Linked DNA regions of Homo sapiens: region 1 is linked to region 2. The links are contacts of gene promoters, found by promoter capture Hi-C in blood cells and fetal thymus (Javierre and others, 2016). All regions are on one chromosome and are shown on one strand. Each heading gives the region's core, a stretch centred on a gene start or on the middle of the fragment in contact. The rest is flanking DNA. Distances are from core to core; before and after follow the strand shown.

What was found. Contacts are between HindIII fragments. The CHiCAGO score rates a contact against its expected background, and 5 or more counts as called.
Region 1: the fragment with the promoter of ACTR10 here is called in contact with the fragment with the promoter of GPR135 in region 2 in 2 of 17 cell types (total CD8 T cells and non-activated CD4 T cells); the score reaches 7.3 in total CD8 T cells.

Annotation. Positions count from the first base shown.
Region 1 is chr14:58,195,736-58,202,433 of GRCh38, reverse strand. ACTR10 (actin related protein 10) reads right to left here and starts at 2,285. Exons shown (of 13, transcript NM_018477.3): 1 at 2,140-2,285. The coding sequence starts at 2,216. RefSeq lists enhancers at 1,903-2,092, 2,713-2,842 and a silencer at 2,253-2,642. The HindIII fragment of the contact is 4,366 bases long and covers 1,927-6,292 here.
Region 2 is chr14:59,462,077-59,469,250 of GRCh38, reverse strand. GPR135 (G protein-coupled receptor 135) reads left to right here and starts at 3,871. Exons shown (of 1, transcript NM_022571.6): 1 at 3,871-7,174. The coding sequence starts at 4,025. The coding sequence ends at 5,509. It also overlaps a transcript of L3HYPDH not described here. RefSeq lists a silencer at 3,801-4,340. The HindIII fragment of the contact is 8,985 bases long and covers 2,161-7,174 here.

The sequences.
Region 1 (6,698 bases), core at 1,036-3,535, 1.3 Mb after region 2:
TTTTTTTTTTTTTTTTAGTAGAGACGAGGTTTCACCGTGTTAGCCAGGATAGTCTCGATCTCCTGACCTCGTGACCCGCCCGCGTCGGCCTCCCAAAGTGCTGGTATTACAGGCGTGGGCCACCGCGCCTGGCCAACTTTTTTCCTAGTTGTTAATTTTAGCAGAATTTAGGCAAGACATATCTACAACTCTGAATCTGTACTACATTATGTGACTTCATTCATATAATTCATCTGTATCACTCATAATTCCATCATTCTAATATTGTTAGCTTCCATATTGGTGTATTCACTTTCAGTCTACTTCTTATGATTATGCATATATATTTGACATAGTTTTAATCACACTTCATACATAATTAACTCATACAGTAAGCTTCTGCCCATATTAACATAATCTTCATTGCTATCACTTTTTTTTTTTTTTTTTTTGAGGCAGGGTCTCGCTCTGTCGCCCAGGCTGGAGTGCAGTGGCACAAACTCAGATCACTGCAGCCTCCGCTTCCCAGGCTCAAGCGATCCTCCCCCCTTGGCCTCCCAAAGTGCTAGGATTTCGGGCACGACACTACCGCCGGCTAAATTTTGTATTTTGTGTAGAGCTGGGTTTCCCCATGTTGCCCAGGCTGGTCTTGAACTACTGGGCTCAAGTGGTCAGCCCGCCTCAGCTTTCCAAACTGCTGGAATTACAGTATTATTTTTAAAACCACATATTTCATTATTTTAAAAACGATGCTCTTTTCTTGAGTATTTAGGTATTTCCATTTTTGTTTCATGTTAGTAAAACAAAAATTTGCTAAAAACGTTGCTAAAAATGATCATCATACTAGTTTAGTCTTAACATCCTGTCTTCTTGTCCTGTCTAGTTTTTGATACTGCTCTCCTCGTATTCCCAAATAATTCTCTCCATCTCCTCCTATTCCCGTCTCCATGTTTACTTGCATCAGTGCTCCTCAAACATCTCAGAATGCAAGCCATTAGACTTCAATTCCTTTTTTTTACTTCATACATTTATCTTATCATCCTCCTGCTGTCTTTTTCAAATATAGCTTTTTGCTTATTTCTTCCAAGTACAGCCAAAATAATTATCTTTGACTAGAAGCCTCGAACTGTTTATTACGCTTTCAAAATAATTTTAATAAGAAAATATAAATAAGGAAGGGCCTCGCATAGAACAATAAGAGAATGTCATTAACCAAGGACTATGTTTAATCCAATTCTGGAGTTCCTGGGGTCCAATTTTTAAATAGGCTCTTTTAACCACTTAGTCAATAAATAGTTATTAAATACCTACTACACGTCAGGAAGTGCCTAGAGATATAAAAAGATTTTTCAAATGTTTCATTTTCATAAATACATATATGATGTAATTGCCTGTTACTTCCCTCTCTGTTGAGCCCATCACAAGGACTCTTAATCTAGGGTCCCAGGACCACATTGATTGTCTGCCAATTCCCTGAAACTGTGTATAAGTACCTTAAGATTTGTGCATTTGTGGTTTTCATCCAGCCATTAAAGAGATCTATGCCATCCGAAAGGTTGAGAACCTCCTCTCTATTGTTTACAAGTTGGTTTGTTTAAAACATGTCAAATCTAACCTTCGAGTTTAGGGGAGCCAACAAAGGATTTCCAGAATCTTATCTATAGGGTTTCACCTCTTAATGTGCCCAGTCTCCCTAATTCTTGAGCAGCGATAGCCCTGTCTTAAACATCTTTCCATTTTCAGCACCAAAATAAACTCCGTTCAATATTTTATGATGAAATTCGTCATCGAGCATTTACATTCGGTTGGCTGCCTTCCTCAACTGAGGAGCCCAGGGTAAGCGGGGTCTAGGTCACGGTTGTCATCCCCTACACAGATGATCCCAAAGGGTTTGTTGGGTTTGGGGTGATGACAAGGGGCGGCGACGAGGGCAATTCAACAGAAGCTTTCTGGGCCTCTCTGGGAGTCAGACCCCGATCCTCGGATTCGCATCGCCCAGGGAGGAAATAATAAGAGCTGTTATTTGCAAGGGCGCTGGTTGAAGAAAAGGGGAGGCCCGGAGCTGCCCAGCGAGTCGGCGATGAGGACCCAGGCAGTGCCTGGGGCTCTGCCACCCGCCCTCCCCTCGGGTCGAACACAGCTGGCGTCACGGCCACTCACTTGGTAAAGGCCTCTCCCAGGTCGATCACGACCGCCGTCTTCTCCCCGCCGCTCCCCAGGCCCTCGTAGAGCGGCATGGTAGTAAGGCAGACTGAGAGAAGAGGGTCGCAGTCTCCGCGGCCAACAAGTCTCGGCGCTCGCGGGGCGGGGCCGGGGCTCCGGCGCTCGGGCGTCGGCGACGGCGGGGGCCTCGCGCGGCCGCGGCGCGCCGGGCCCGGGCTGTCCCAGGCTGTGCCTCATTCCGCGTTGGACCCACCCTTGCAGGTGCTGCCGTCGCCAGGACTAGGGGAAAAGAGGCGCTGGCGGGCGCGAATCCGAGTGCGGGGGCGCGGAGGCCGCGGCGATCAGGCGCGCCGGTCGCCCTGAGGGGGCGGAGCCGGCCTCCCTATCCTTCCCTCCCACCACGCCCCAAAGCCGCACCCACGCGCGGCTGTGAAGAGGTTCGGTCTCAGCTCACTGTGAAGAGGTCACTGAGGACCTGGCTGCCAAGGGGCAGCCGAGAGACGACGCAATTCCGAACCTTTGATTCATGCTCTTGGGGGGCAGAAGATGCTGAGACCCTATTCTGTGCTAGGCGTTTTGCCTAATATTTAATCTTCTCAAGAAATAACAAGAATATGTGTTTTCTTATCTGTGGGGACCGACGCTCAGAGAGATTAACTTTCCCAATGTCCCACGGCAGAGCCAGGAACAAACCCACAGACTTCCTAATTGCAAAGCCTATGCTAATGATGCTTTAGAGAATAATACGTACAGACAATACTTTAGTTAGTAGTCTTTCTGAAAGTTTTTATTTTACTCCAGAATTAAGCAGCTAGAGTAGCGTCTGTGAATCTTGAATCTGTCCATAGAGGAGCGGTCGGGATGGTTTAATAGAAGAAACATTGAAGCAAAGGCCCCTATTAGGTTGGTGCAAAAGTAATTGCTGTTTTTGCCACTACTTTTAACATTTACATTACTGTTTACATCTTTGTCACTTCACAGCTTTCTGTGAAAATATTTTTTTCCTGCAAATATTAGCTCTAACTGTATCTATGCATAGGAGTGGAAAAGACTGTCAAAGGAGAGGCTGTGCAATAAGAAAAGAGGTTCAAGGGTAAATCGGTGAGGACTAGCAACATTTAGCTGGTGTACTGGGTTGAATGATGCCCCCCCCCCCAAAATTCTTGTCCACTGGGAACCTCAGAATGTGACCCTATTTGGAAATAGAGTCTTGGCAGATGTAATCAAGTTAAGATGAGGTTATACTGTATTAAGATGTCCCAACTGTCCGAGCGCAGGATCACACCTGTAATCCCAGCACTTTGGGAGGCCGAAGCGGGAGGATCCCTTGAGCCCAAGAAGTCTAAAGCGGCAGTGAGTCGGGATTGTGCCGCTGCACTCCAGCCTGGGCAACAACAAGAGTGAGAGCCTGTCTCTCAAAAAAAAAAAAAAAAAAAAAAAAGGCCCTACTCTAATGGTTGGTAACTAGAGTTAGCGGGGTAGTTGGGGATAAGCTATTTCCATAACAAAAACTAAGGCTGTAACAATGCAGAAATTTGGAATGTGATATTAGTAAAATTCATGTTTAAGTCCAAATTACTGATCAATGATCCTCCTTGAAAGCAAATTCCTGGAGACAGGAGAATGAAGTTGGAGTTGTGACGGGGAAGAAAACTTTAAGAAACGTGGGAAGAGATTAAATTTTTTGCTTAATAGAGTCAGATTATTTGAATAGGACCCCTTACTTGAGTTCAGATTCTGTTTCTGCCACTTTCTGTCAAGTCCCTAATACCTCTGATCGTCCACTTCCTTATCTGTAAACTGTTCTGCTGCTTCACAAGGTATTTGTAAGGATCAATTTGAAATTATGTTTCTGAAACTATTGAAATGATGAAGTTTGTTATTACCTATTCTATGTTTTCCATGACAGCTCACCAGCTGTATTTGTTAGCTAGGGACTGCCGTAACAAAGTACCACAAACGGTGGTTCAAGGAAACAAAAAATTTATTCTTTCACACTTCTGGAGGTGAGAAGTCAGAAATCAAGGTGTCAGCAAGAGCAAGGTCATGCCCTCTTTGAAGGCTCTTGAGGAGGATCCTTTCTTGTCTTTTTTTTTTTTTCTTTTTTTGAGATGGAGTCTCGCTCTGTCACCCAGGTTCGATCTCAGCTCACTGCAGCCTCCGCCCCACCAGGTTCAAGTGATTCTTCTGCCTCAGCCTCTGGAGCAGCCGGGATTACAGGCACCTGCCACCACGCCCAACTATTTTTTTTTGTTTGTTTTGGATTTTTAGTAAAGATAGGGTTTCACCATGTTGGCCAGGCTGGTCTCGAACTCCTAACCTCAGGTGATCTGCCTGCCTTGGCCTCTCGAAGTGCTGGGATTACACCGCGCCCAGCTTTTTTTTTTTTTTTTTTTTTTTTTAACAGAGTCTCGTTCTGTCATCCAGGCTGGAGTGCAGTGGTGCAACCTTGGCTCACTGAACCCCAGACTGGGCTCAAGCAATTCTCCTGCCTCACCTTCCCAAGTAGCTGGGACTGCAGGCATGTGCCACCTTGCGTGGCTAATTTTAACATCTTTTGTAGAGATGGGTTTCACCGTGTTGCCCAGGCTGGTCTTAAACTACTGAGCTCCGGTGATCCGCCTTCCTAAGCCTCCCAAAGTGCTGAGATAACAGGCATGAGCCACCGTGCCTGGCCTTCTTTCTTGCCTTTTCCTAGCTTCTGGTGGTTGCTGGCAATCTTTGATGTGCCTTTGCTTGTAGATACATAACTCCAATCTCTGCCTCTGTCATCACTTGGCCTTCTTCGCTGTGTCTGCATTTTTCACATTATGTACTCCTCCCTGTGTCTTCACATCACTTTCCTTCTGTGTGTGTCTCTGTGTCCAGATTTCCCTCCTTTTTTCTTAATTGTTTTCTTTTTTATTTTTTCTGTATTCGGCTGAACAAATTTCCCTCTTCTTGTTTATTTTTATTTTTATTTTTTTTGAGACGGAGTTTCACTCTTGTCGCCCAGGCTGGAGTGCAGTGGCGCGATCTCAGCTCACTGCAACCTCTGCCACCTAGGTTCAAGCAATTCTCCTGCCTCAGCCTCCCAAGTAGCTGGGATTACAGGCACCTGCCACCATGCCTGGCTAATTTTTTGTATTTTTAGTAGAGATGGGATTTTGCCATGTTGGCCAGGCTGGTCTCGACTCCTGACTTCAAGTGACCCGCCCGCCTCGGCCTCCCAAAGTGCTGGGATTACAGGCATGAGCCTCTGTGCCCGGCCTCCCTCTTCTTCTGAGGATATCAGTTACTGGCTCAGGGTCCATCTTAACCCAGTATGACTTCATCTTAACTTGATTACATTTGCAAAGGATCTAATTCCAAATATAGTCACATTCTAAGATTTCTGTTCACACGAATTTTGGGGAGGACACTATTCAACCCAGTACACAACCTAAATGTTGTTGTTCTCCATGGTTCTGCTCTTGAACCTCTTTTCTTATTGTACACCCTCTCCTTTGCCAATCTCTTCCACTCCCATAGATACAGCTAGAGATAATATTTGTTGAGTTCTATTTGCTAGCTCTCCTTGCTATATATGATCCCATTTATTCCTCACAGCAACTTTATGAGTTAAGTGTTATTGTTACTAGAAAGGGGTCTCAATCCAGACCCCAAAAGTGTTCTTAGACCTCGCACAAGAAATAGTTCGGGGCAAGTCCATAGAGTAAAATGAAAACAAGTTTATTAAGAAAGTAAAGGAATAAAAGAATGGCTACTCATAGGCAGAGCAGCAGCGTGAGCTGCTTAACTGCTTATACTTATCATTACTTCTTGATTATATGCTAAACAAGGGGTGGATTATTCATGGATTTTCTGGGAAAGGGTTGAGCAATTCCTGGAACTGAGGGTTTCTCCCCCTTTTAGACTACATAGGGTAACTTCCTGATGTTGCCATGGCATTTGTAACTGTTGTGGCACTGGTGGGAATGTCTTTTCAGGTGCCTTGACATTATATTCTTCATGTTTCTTTTGTTTGGGATTAAGTGAACTTGGACCTGTGGTTTTATAGTTTTCATCAAATTTGGAATATTTTGACCTTTGTTTCTTCAAGTAATTTTTCTATACTGACTCTTCTCCTTTGGGTAGTCCAAGTACATATGTTATTAGGTGGTTTAAAGCTTTCTCGTAGCTCACTGACTCTTTGTTCTTTTTTCTTTTTCTCACTTATATTTTTTCCTCTGTGTTTCTTTTTGTATAGTTTCTACTGTTTTGTCTTCATGTCTATTGATCTTCTCTTTTGCAGCATTTAATCTGCTATTAATCCCATCCAGTGTATTTTTCACCTCAAAATTGTATCTTTAACTTCTAGAAGTTCAATTTAGGTCTTTTTCTTTGTATCTTTTTTTTTTCTAGACAGAGTTTTGCTCTGTCACCCAGGCTGGAGTGTAGTGGTGTGATCTCCCCATTGCAACTTCTGCCTCCTGAGCTCAAGTGATCTTTCCACCTCAGCCACCCAAATAGCTGGGACTACAGGCACATACCACCATGCCCAGCTCTTTTTTGTTTGTTTGTTTTGGAGAGACAGG
Region 2 (7,174 bases), core at 2,622-5,121:
TTCTCCTTTTTCTTTGGGAAACTACCTGCATGTAGTCTTGCTAGGACTGCTGGGAAACTGGTACACCAGTCAAGACTTTTTCCCCCAGACCTGAGATCTTGAGAAATGACATAAGGTCTGAAAACTGAAGTTGATCTGTTCCAATGGTGGCCTAAAGAGATCACTCCCATCAGTTTCTGCTCTCCCTACCCACAGGACTGCTCTGACTTCTCTTCTTCTTGGAGCTGCTGTTAGACTGTCCTTTTGTAAATGGAACTTCCCCTGTCCTTCCAGTAAATTCCTATATTGCTTATGTGAACCAGTGTCCTCATGTGTTACTTACGCCCAGAGAATCCTAATCCATATACTACCTACCCTAATCTATACATGACCTCTCCTTCTTCACTGCAAAGGTCCACTTCAGACTCTCACTTTTCACCTGGACTGTTAGAATGCCTCTCCTTAAGTGGTCTCCTAAATTCCAGATTCTCCTCTTACAGTTACTCAAAAAATATTTTTTTGTATGTTGGCATTTGTATAGCAGTTTGTTAGAGTGCTAAGTGCTGGGGATCTCATAAAATAAACAGGCAAGGTTTAGGTCCTCATATAGTATAGAGTGGGAGGCAGGTAATGCTTAGATAATCACGCAAAAAATTATAGACCATGGTTATGTGCTACAATGGAAAATACAGAGTGCTGTGAAACTAACAGGGGAACATGGCCCAATACGTGGGGAAAGGACGGTATCAGTCAAGGGAGGCTTCCCCCATGGACTAACCTTAACGCGAAGATGGGGATGCTAGGGAAGGGAAGAAGAAGATGGAGCTTTCCAGGCAGAGGGGATAGCAAGTGCAAACACCCTAAGATGGAAGGTTTAAGGAAGTCATAAAAGCCAAGTGTGGCAGGAACACAGAAAAAAGAAGGAAAGTGGTACCGAATGAGACTAGAGAGGAAGCAGGGTCAAATCATGCAGTGCCTTGTAGGAAATATTAAGGATTGGGGTCCTTATTCTAAAATAAATGGGGAAAGCCAATAGGATTTTTTTTAAAAGAGACATGGTCTCACTATGTTGCCCAGGCTGGCCTGTAACTACTGGGCTCATACGATCCTCCCTCCTCAGCTTCCTAAGTACCTGGGACTACAGGCACATGCCACTACACTGGCCTAATTAGAAGAGTTTAAATAAGTAAGTGGCATGAAGAATTTTTTTAAGAGCATTATGCCTAGCTGCCTACAATGTAGGAACTGGATGTGGGAAGACCGGTTAGGACAACAGTGACAACAGTAGTCCAAAGAGAGGATGAGAGCCAAGATTCAGGATGGAGGAGATGAATGGATGCAAAGATAGTCCGCAACTAAAATCCATAGGTCTTGGTTGATGAATTGGATGTGGACTGGTGGTAAGGAGGAGGGATTCATCAAGGAAAACTCTTAAGTTTTTGGCTTAAAAGCTAGAAGGATGGTTCTACCATATTCTGAGATACAGAGTATTGAAGACCAAGTTTTACCGGGGAAGTAGGAAGAAGATCATGCACCCATTTGATGTGCCACTGGCACATCAAGGAGAGAGATGCCAAGTAGCAGGACATGTAGGTTGGGGCCACAGACATAATTTGAGTAATGAATATATAGATTATCTTTGAAGTCCTGGATGTGAGTGAGATGGGGCCGAGGGGGGAGTCCAGAGGAGCTGAGAACAGGGCTTTGATGAACTCCAGCATGTAAAGGCAGGTGGAAGAGGATGAACTGGCAGAGGAGAGGACACTGAGAAAGATGAGGAAGGAAGGAAGCAGAAGAGTGCAGTCCTTCTGGTCCTTCTGAACCATGCACTTGCTCACGGCCCTCCCTTATGCTATTAGCCCCTCCTCCCCTGATGAAGTTCAGTCTCCAGAGCATGGCCTACAAGGCCCATCATAAGGTAGCCCCAATAAACTTTGATCATTTATTTCCTTCTTCACTCCCCATCTCCAATATCCTAGAATTCAGACACTGCTCACTTCAACACTAACCTCCAGACTTTGCACATTCATCAAATGTTCTTTCCCTTTCTTCTTTTTTTAAAAAGTCTAATGTCACCTCTTGTACAAAGTCTTTGTCAGGAAGACAAATAATTTCACTCACATATTTTTAAGACAATATTTAGCACACTGTAATATACTGTGTTGGCCGGTGGCTTAAGCTTATTTGGGCTGGGTTTCCTATCTTATATGTTGTTTCCTAAAACTAAGCACAATCTGAGAAGATTGTGTTTGCCAAATAAATTAATGTATGATAATTATATTTTTGCTTTGATTGACAAAATTAAGACAAAATCAGTCTAGATTAAGCTGGCATTGACTGCTCCCAAGAGGATATTTGGCAATATCTGAAGACAGTTTTAGTTGTCACAGCTGGGAGAGGTGCTACTGGCATCTCGTAGGTAGGAACTAGGGATGCTGCTGAACATCATACAATGTATAGATGGCCCCTGCAATAAAGAATTATCTGGCCCAAAAGTCCATGACGCTTAGGCTGACAAACCCAGTTTTGGTTTGCCACCTTAAACGTTCTTCTATTTATACTGTAAATTTCCTGTAGGATATTTTTTCTGAATGAAATAAGCACTCCAATACTAATACCATTGATTCTAAGATCTACAAATATACTAGTCATTCTTTAGAGCAGTGTTTCTCAAATTTGTGCATCAGAATCACTGGGAGGGCTTGTTAAAACATAGGTGCCTGGGCCCCACCACAGGAGTTTCAGTAGATCAGGGGTATCCTATGCACTGTAGGCCTGATAATTTGTATTTCTCAAGGTTTCCAGGGGATGTTGATGCTGCTGGTCCAATGTCCATACTCTGTGAACCACTGCTTTAGCGAAGAGCCCAGGGTTAGTTAACCTGAGGGTTTATCACACTTTTCCCCATTAGAGGCCATGCCCAGAAACTTGAGATGCAACTTCCCTGGGTAGCCCTGCCTTTCTTTTCCCCGTATCTCCCAGCCAGGTACCTGGAGCTGCATCTGTGGTGATTGCCAGGCTGGCAGCACCTTAGACTCAAAACATACCCCATTCCTGAGAACAGATGAAGGCTGCTAGCAGGGCAAGGCACCAATCCCTCTCCCCCCATTTATCAGCCAGTAGGGGCCTGAGGTCCAGGCCCTTGGAAATGAAGTAACATCTAAAGGAACTATCCTAGCTCCTCAGAGCACCTGTATCAGAATCACCTACGGGGTTTAGAGTCATGGGCCCATCCTTAGTAATTCTGTCAGCCTGGGAATCTGCATTTTATGAAACTCTTGACATCAGTGCTTCTGTAAGTGTGGTCCTGGGACCAGCATCATCATCACCACCCGCGAACCCGTTAGAGATACAAATTCTTGGGTACTTCCCCAGACATATTCGAAACGCTGGGGTTCAGACCTCGTCACTTGTATTTTAACACGCCCTCTATGTGAATTCTGTTAGCTCAAGTTTGAGAATTACTGGTTTAAATTAGTCTGCTTCTCAAGTTTAAGATGTCTGGATGTAGACTTCTGGATTTTTCTTTCACTTCACTTTCTAGATTCCTTTCCTACCTGTATATACCAAAAGCACCCACAGGAAGCAGAGTGCCCCCCCCACCACTCCCCAAAAGGCCTGCCTGTAGAACATTTGTACCCTACAAAAGAGAGCAAGAGTGAACTTTCGTTGAATCTGGTCATTTGTTTGCATGCCAGTCGGCACTTTATCTGGCCGGACATTGGTCCCTCAGGAGGTCGACCTGGCACTCTCGGAAACCCGAACACCCGGGCCGGTAACCTCCGGAGTGGCGGTGTCGCGGGTCGGCTTTGCAGCGGGTACTGGGCTGCCGTCCCGCCCCGCGCTCCTGCGTAAACACGCGGTTCCCTCGGCAACGCTGGAACCCACGTCAAAGGCTCCGCCAGGTCCCCAGCGACCGCCACCCCTCCGGCCGAGCCCAGCTCCCCGCGGCGGCCGCTAGCCCCCGGCCCCGAGCCACCACTCCGACCTAGCGGCCGCCGCCCCCGGTGCGGGATGAGGAGATCCGCGGCCGCCACTGGGCCCCATGGAGGAGCCGCAGCCGCCCCGCCCACCAGCGAGCATGGCCTTACTGGGCAGCCAGCACTCCGGCGCCCCCTCCGCGGCCGGCCCACCTGGCGGGACTTCCTCCGCGGCCACGGCGGCCGTGCTCTCCTTCAGCACCGTGGCGACCGCGGCGCTGGGGAACCTGAGCGACGCAAGCGGAGGCGGCACAGCTGCCGCTCCCGGTGGCGGCGGCCTTGGCGGGTCCGGGGCAGCGCGGGAGGCGGGGGCGGCGGTGAGGCGGCCGCTAGGCCCGGAGGCGGCGCCGCTGCTGTCGCACGGAGCTGCAGTGGCGGCCCAGGCGCTCGTCCTCCTGCTCATCTTCCTGCTGTCTAGCCTTGGCAACTGCGCGGTGATGGGGGTGATTGTGAAGCACCGGCAGCTCCGCACCGTCACCAACGCCTTCATCCTGTCGCTGTCCCTATCGGATCTGCTCACGGCGCTGCTCTGCCTGCCCGCCGCCTTCCTGGACCTCTTCACTCCGCCCGGGGGTTCGGCGCCTGCCGCCGCCGCGGGGCCCTGGCGCGGCTTCTGCGCCGCCAGCCGCTTCTTCAGCTCGTGCTTCGGCATCGTGTCCACGCTCAGCGTGGCGCTCATCTCGTTGGACCGTTACTGCGCTATCGTGCGGCCGCCGCGGGAGAAGATCGGCCGCCGCCGCGCGCTGCAGCTGCTGGCGGGCGCCTGGCTGACGGCCCTGGGCTTCTCCTTGCCCTGGGAGCTGCTCGGGGCGCCCCGGGAACTCGCGGCGGCGCAGAGCTTCCACGGCTGCCTCTACCGGACCTCCCCGGACCCCGCGCAGCTGGGCGCGGCCTTCAGCGTGGGGCTGGTGGTGGCCTGCTACCTGCTGCCCTTCCTGCTCATGTGCTTCTGCCACTACCACATCTGCAAGACGGTGCGCCTGTCGGACGTGCGCGTGCGGCCGGTGAACACCTACGCGCGCGTGCTGCGCTTCTTCAGCGAGGTGCGCACGGCCACCACCGTCCTCATCATGATCGTCTTCGTCATCTGCTGCTGGGGGCCCTACTGCTTCCTGGTGCTGCTGGCCGCCGCCCGGCAGGCCCAGACCATGCAGGCCCCCTCGCTCCTCAGCGTGGTGGCCGTCTGGCTGACCTGGGCCAATGGGGCCATCAACCCTGTCATCTACGCCATCCGCAATCCCAACATTTCGATGCTCCTAGGGCGCAACCGCGAGGAGGGCTACCGGACTAGGAATGTGGACGCTTTCCTGCCCAGCCAGGGCCCGGGTCTGCAAGCCAGAAGCCGCAGTCGCCTTCGAAACCGCTATGCCAACCGGCTGGGGGCCTGCAACAGGATGTCCTCTTCCAACCCGGCCAGCGGAGTGGCAGGGGACGTGGCCATGTGGGCCCGCAAAAATCCAGTTGTACTTTTCTGCCGAGAGGGACCACCAGAGCCGGTGACGGCAGTGACCAAACAGCCTAAATCCGAAGCTGGGGATACCAGCCTCTAAGACGGTTGGAATGGCCAGCTTATGAAGGCAAATTTCCACTCGCATTATTTAATGATGGAAGATTCTGGGGGAGAGTTGTGGATTTCATAAAGCCAAACATTTAAAGCTAGAGACGGGGGAGGCTTACCACTTTCCCCAAACAACATAAAAGACAATGTCCCTTCTTCAAAAGTGCCAAAAGGAATGTAAAATGCAAAAATTAAAACAATCTTAAACCACATAACCAAGCATTGTGAACTGTAAGTGCCAAAAATGACAAAAATAACATTCACTATAACTGAAAAGCTCATATTATAGGACCACACTGTGAAACAAACAAAACATTGAATGCAACCAGTATTGTTCAACTACACAGAATTTCAGGAATGAATGGAGACCTTCAGAGCTGCTTGAAAGCCCCTCTAAATCGCTACCATCCAACAAAACTTTAGCTTCTAGAGCTTGCACCTCTGACATGCTTTGGGTGCTTAGATTGCAAGTGGAAAAGTCTTATCCTTACACACATTGGTGCACCTCCTCACCCCACCCCCTAATAACCTTTGTGGAAAATTTTTAATTCATAACCCATTTAAAATCATTTTAGGATTTTGAAAAGCTGGTTATTATTAGATAAAATTCAACCATCTGAAGGACAAATAGAAGTATGAACATAAAGAAATGTGTCTTTTAAATGTTTTCCAAGATTATATGTAAAAATTAACATTCCTTCCACCCGCGTCATACCTCCAAAATGATCTTCCTTGGAAAACTTTGAAGTTTTATCCTTACTCTAACCTGTTACTTTTATTTCTGATAAATTTTGGAATGCTGCTCTCAGAATGCTTTCACATTTAAAAAAATATTTTCATTGTAGAAAATTTTTGTCTTTTGAGGTAAATTTGATTTTTGGATATAGCCAAAAATGTAATTTGAAGTCAAGTTGATTGAATAAGGTGAGTGATGCCACTTTATTTAAATTTTTATTATTTTTTAAAATGAGACCTCTATAAAACAACAAGGTTGGGTTTCCTACGTGGCTTTTAGCTAACTGAAAACGATTCCAAAGAGAAATTCTAAAACTATTTTGAGAAGCAGCCTCTTGGAATTAGCGTAGACTTTTCCAAATAGATCATACCCTCCTACATTTAGAAATTTGGTATATTTTGTATTTTTTAAAATAGCTGATGGTTGCTTTATAGCTATGACTTGTCGAAGATAATGTATTTATTAAAGGGAGAATAGGTGTGGGACTATATGTAACGGTATTAAAACACAGGCATAAAGTTGGAGAAGAACTTCAAGCAAACTGAAAATATCTTTAGAAATATGCAAATCAAAGATGCTTTTTAAATTTCTATCTTAGCAGAAAAGATGGTTTTACAATAATTCAAAAGCGTATGTGAACTTTCTAATGTTAAATACGACTATACACAGAATCATTTACTCAGAATTTTTTTAAATATTATTTTTCCCTTTCTTTTCCTCCATCCTGCCCCTTTTCTTCAGTATTTCATAGCCTTAATTGAACAAGTTATTTACAGTAGATATGAAAAGACATTAGCTGTCGTATGAAGATTTCAATGTGAAATAGCCAGCATTTTCTTCCTGTAAAGTATTTAAATATGTTTTTAAGTATTTCTTTGTTTGACAGGTGGGTACATGTCATTATTTTGTAATCAAAGGTGG